2 separate regions of the Homo sapiens genome follow, and region 1 is linked to region 2. The links are contacts of gene promoters, found by promoter capture Hi-C in blood cells and fetal thymus (Javierre and others, 2016). All regions are on one chromosome and are shown on one strand. Each heading gives the region's core, a stretch centred on a gene start or on the middle of the fragment in contact. The rest is flanking DNA. Distances are from core to core; before and after follow the strand shown. Region 1 has its middle 11 kb from the start of TCF21. Region 2 holds the start of TAAR8 (trace amine associated receptor 8).

What was found. The method cuts DNA at HindIII sites, captures the fragments that hold promoters and counts their contacts. A CHiCAGO score of 5 or more calls a contact.
Region 1: a fragment that was not itself captured here is called in contact with the fragment with the promoter of TAAR8 in region 2 in 1 of 17 cell types (total CD4 T cells); the score reaches 6.1 in total CD4 T cells.

Annotation. Positions count from the first base shown.
Region 1 is chr6:133,898,910-133,901,609 of GRCh38, forward strand. No RefSeq gene overlaps it. Among named protein-coding and RNA genes, the nearest start is that of TCF21, 11 kb to the left of the region's middle. The HindIII fragment of the contact is 1,036 bases long and covers 764-1,799 here.
Region 2 is chr6:132,551,315-132,554,014 of GRCh38, forward strand. It overlaps TAAR8 (trace amine associated receptor 8), which reads left to right and starts at 1,358. Exons shown (of 1, transcript NM_053278.3): 1 at 1,358-2,442. The coding sequence starts at 1,379. The coding sequence ends at 2,407. The HindIII fragment of the contact is 7,110 bases long and covers 972-2,700 here.

The DNA.
Region 1 (2,700 bases), core at 32-2,531, 1.3 Mb after region 2:
ATTGTGTCTATGATGTGGGGAAGGAGCAGAGATAACAACAAAACAAATTCATATAACCTAAATGATCTACTTTATGGACTAGAACAATCTTATTGAGGAAATCACTAGCACTTTTTAGCCAGTAAAATGTTATTGTAAGGCACATTTAAGAAATAACAGCACAGACTAAGATTTCTTAATTTTTTTCATCCATTTGCATTCATGAAGCACATTTATAGAGGCTATCATATTTCATCTTCAAAACAACCCTGACCCAGAGGTATTATTATCCTCACTTTTTTTTATAGGGCAACTGAAACTCAGAGATGGAAAATAAATTGCCAAGAGCTATATAGTGAAAAAGTGGCAGAAAGCTGAGTATAGAATTCTTTTATTTTGTTGAAACTACCTTGAATGTAGGAGGGTCCCAGAATAAAAGAAATTTTAAAAACTGTAGCCATACAAAGGAAAGAAATACTTCCAATAAAAGCATGACATTAAGCCTTTTTAAAATTAGAATTTGTATTTTATACTTACTTAAGGATCTCTTTTAGACTTATTTATAACTTTATTTTAATCCTATATTGCCATTAAGGATACATAAAAGGAAATTATAAGCAAAATAAACTAGTTAAAATATTCCAAAAATTATTTTATATTCAGAGCCTAATTCATTCTGAATCATTTAGTCAATCCCAGTCATGAAAGTCTTGTGACTTTTTATTATGTAACAGTTTTTGTCATAAAAGAAACCATCCTGAAACCCAGTGGCTTAAAAGCAATAAGCTTTAGTTGTTACTCAGGAATCTGAGTTAGTTAAGAGGCTCTGCTGATCTGAGCTGAGCTCTACTGTTCTTGCTGGGGCTTGCCCATACATTTTTGGCTGGCTGTCTATTTGGCTAGGAGCTAGCTGGTCAAGAACAGCCTCACTCACATGCCTGGTGGCTGGCCAGTTATTGGCTAGGGTATGAGGAAAACCAAACCATGCATTTTTTTTTTTTTTTTTTTTAGACAGGGTCTGCCTCTGTCACCCAGGCTGGAGTGTAGTGACACAATCTTGGCCCACTGCAACCTCCACCTCCTGTGCTCAAGCAATCCTCCCACCTCAGCCTCCCAAGTAGCTGGGACTACAGGTGCATACCACCACACCCAGCTTTTTTTCTTTTTTAGTAGAGACAGGGTTTCACCATGTTGCCCAGGCTGGTCTCGAACTCCCGACCTCAAGCAACTCACCTAGCTTGGCCTCCCAAAGTGCTGGGATTACAGGTGTGAGCCACTGGGTCCAGCTAAACCATGCATCTCTAATCATCCCATAGGCTAGTTTGTTCTTGTAGCAACTAGGGAGGGAACAGAAAGTCATAAGGCCTGTTGGACCTAGGTTTACAACAGGTATAGTGCCACTTCTGCTGTGTTCTATTGGCTAAAGCCAGTCACAAGGGCATCCCAGATTCAAGAGATAGGGAAATAAATTTTACCTCTCAATGGGAGAAACTACAAATGCACTTTGCTTAGAACATGTAGACTGTGTACGTGTGGAAATTTAGAACTATTTTTATAATTAATCTACCACACAAAAGTTTTTTTAAAAAAATTCTTTGGCCCTTCTGAATAATTTTCCACTTTGAAAGGTCAATATCTAGTGATTTACCACCCAATTTTATCTTCTGGTTTATTAAGAACATTTCTTAGAAGAGTTCTCTGTTATCTCTGTAATTTTCTTCCAAGCAACTGATACCCATTCTATAGTTTTAATATTGACTCTTTCTTGATATTTTTGGCAGGGAGCATAATGAAAATAGCAACATAAATTAGTCACACCAAGCTTTCTTTTACTTATTCTTACAAATTTGGAGGTTTCCCTAACCCTAGTTGCATTGTTTGGCCTGTGTAGTGGGCTAAATGGTGGCCTCAAAGAAATCAGATTCTAATTCCTGGAAACCGTAAATATTACCTTAATTGGAAGAAGGGTCTTTGCAGATATGATTAACGATTTTGAGATGGAGAGATTATCCTTGGTTGTTTGGGTAGGCCCTAAATGCCATCACAAGTGTCCTTATAAGAGAAAGGGAGAGGGGGATTTGATGCACAGAAGAGAAAATGGTGATGTGAAGACAGAAGTAGAGATTTAAATGATGCAGCCACAAACAAAGGAAGAGTAGCAGCCACCAGAAACCAGAAGAGGCAAGGAAGAGATTGTCCCCTAAAGCCTCCAAGGGAACATGGCTCCGCCTACACCTTGATTTCAACCCAACAAAACTGTCATTGAACTTCCAGCCTCCAGAACTAAGAGAAGAGTAAATTATTGTCAGCTGAAGGCACCAAGTTTGTGGAAATTTATTAAGGCAGCCACAGGAAACTAATACAGCCTGTGTTAGGCAATCCTTTGCATGTATCTCAGTAACCAAATATCACAGGATCATCTACTTATTGTTTACTTTTTTTCTTATGCCCCAAAAAGCACTTTGATGTTAATTTGTAAGAAAATATGGAATTATGGATATTCTTCCAATGGCAAATGCCTTTGTTACTACACATTGATTCTCTATTTCCATTACTTTCTATGCATAAAATAACATTTTTTCAATATGGAATCAGAGCATAATCTTTGTAAAGACATTCTTCAACTGCAGTTGAATCCATTATAGCTCCGACAATACAAATTGTTGAAACAAAGAGACCAATGTTAAGATGCATCCTGATTTTAGAAATGTGAAAATGGGC
Region 2 (2,700 bases), core at 108-2,607:
TATTCAGCCTCATGTTCCCCTGCCCCCTGGCACCTTGGGCTCCATCCAGTCTCCTCCTACCCGCTCTGACCAGGGACCACTGCCATCCTCTTTTCATCCCTGCAGAGGACTGGATGCATCACAGGGAGAGTTGCAGCCAGGCACATCCTCCACAGTCTCAGGGCTAGGCATAGACTGTTGCCTCCATCTCCCGCTGGCAGCGTCACAGCACGTTTGATGAGCTCCTCAGCAGGGCCAAGCCCCTCATGAACCCCAATCCAGGTATCAAGTGCTTTCTGCTGTGCAGGTTGTAATCCCTTGGGGGTCATTGGTCTGCCTTTTGTTGAGGTAGCAGGCCTGTGAGAAGGGCAAATCCCTGGCTCAGCTTCTCACCCCCATCCTGACTATGGCATATTACTTCAGCAGCTGGTAGGAGGGGGAATCTGGCAGTGGGTGGACCATGTGCAAGCTGAGTTGCAAGGCAGGGAATGCAGACACCTGTGAGAGTCCTCACTTGCCCTGCAAATACCTCTTTGTCCAAGGGCATTCCATAGCAAATATCGAACACTATGACAGGCCAAGAAAGACCATAAAAGAAAGGTAAAAGCTTTCTATTTCAGTACCTTTAATGACACTTTTTGTCCATACTTTTGAACAAGGGTCTCTGCATTTTATTTTGTGCTGGATGCTGCAAATTATATAGATAGTCTTGTAAATAAGGAATAGGTAATACTATTGTCAAATCTTGGGTTAGGCTATTTCAGGACAGTTGAACTTAAAGAAATCTCATGGTTATGAAAATCATAAGTGTTTCTACCAAGTTGCAGAGCACAGAGAAACAGTTCTCCTATTGTAGGTGAACTTATTAATTATAATTATCAAAAGTGGGATTCATTTCATGATTCACACCTTACACTATGGGGATTCCTTGTGAAGAATTTATAATGGGTACAATGGATTGGCTGGCTTCCTAAAATGTCCTAGGAGATGGAAGCTTATTAAAAGGTGACTTCTCAAATATGTAATTATATTATACATGATCGTCCTTTGAAAAGAAGGATTCACATGTATATAAAACCAGGTATTTAAATTACATTTCTTCAATTACTTGGTTAATGTGATTACTCAGCTGATGAAAATTCATAGTAGATTTGCTTGGGGTTAATGACGAGGTTTAGACATAGCGACAGAAATAATTATGAGATTAAAGACAGAATTATCTTTTATGTTTTTGAATTTAATTTCTCTTTATAATTAAAATTGAAAAAGAATATAATATGAAACAAAATTTGTAAGTACTCACATATGCAGTTTGTTTTTGTTTTAATTTTCAGAATTCAAAATTATAATTCCCTATCACAAGGAAGGACAGAAATAGCAAACAACAAACAGCAGAACCATGACCAGCAATTTTTCCCAACCTGTTGTGCAGCTTTGCTATGAGGATGTGAATGGATCTTGTATTGAAACTCCCTATTCTCCTGGGTCCCGGGTAATTCTGTACACGGCGTTTAGCTTTGGGTCTTTGCTGGCTGTATTTGGAAATCTCTTAGTAATGACTTCTGTTCTTCATTTTAAGCAGCTGCACTCTCCAACCAATTTTCTCATTGCCTCTCTGGCCTGTGCTGACTTCTTGGTAGGTGTGACTGTGATGCTTTTCAGCATGGTCAGGACGGTGGAGAGCTGCTGGTATTTTGGAGCCAAATTTTGTACTCTTCACAGTTGCTGTGATGTGGCATTTTGTTACTCTTCTGTCCTCCACTTGTGCTTCATCTGCATCGACAGGTACATTGTGGTTACTGATCCCCTGGTCTATGCTACCAAGTTCACCGTGTCTGTGTCGGGAATTTGCATCAGCGTGTCCTGGATTCTGCCTCTCACGTACAGCGGTGCTGTGTTCTACACAGGTGTCAATGATGATGGGCTGGAGGAATTAGTAAGTGCTCTCAACTGCGTAGGTGGCTGTCAAATTATTGTAAGTCAAGGCTGGGTGTTGATAGATTTTCTGTTATTCTTCATACCTACCCTTGTTATGATAATTCTTTACAGTAAGATTTTTCTTATAGCTAAACAACAAGCTATAAAAATTGAAACTACTAGTAGCAAAGTAGAATCATCCTCAGAGAGTTATAAAATCAGAGTGGCCAAGAGAGAGAGGAAAGCAGCTAAAACCCTGGGGGTCACGGTACTAGCATTTGTTATTTCATGGTTACCGTATACAGTTGATATATTAATTGATGCCTTTATGGGCTTCCTGACCCCTGCCTATATCTATGAAATTTGCTGTTGGAGTGCTTATTATAACTCAGCCATGAATCCTTTGATTTATGCTCTATTTTATCCTTGGTTTAGGAAAGCCATAAAACTTATTTTAAGTGGAGATGTTTTAAAGGCTAGTTCATCAACCATTAGTTTATTTTTAGAATAAGTTTAAGCACTAAGTTGAGAAAATTAAGAATATTTTTAAAATTATGAATTTATAAGGAAATTAAATATAAGAAACAAATAAAACTTTTCAAAATTGGAGAAATATATCACTTTTCAAATTAACCAGGAAAAAGGTCACAGGAAGATTAAACTATTAAACTATTGTAAAGATATTGACTACATTAAATAATAAATGATAAAGTGGTTCACACATGTCACTTGTCTCTATGTTTTGTACACATCCTTGCCACATGCACTTGTTTTTTCCGATTTACTGAATTCTGAATTGCATTT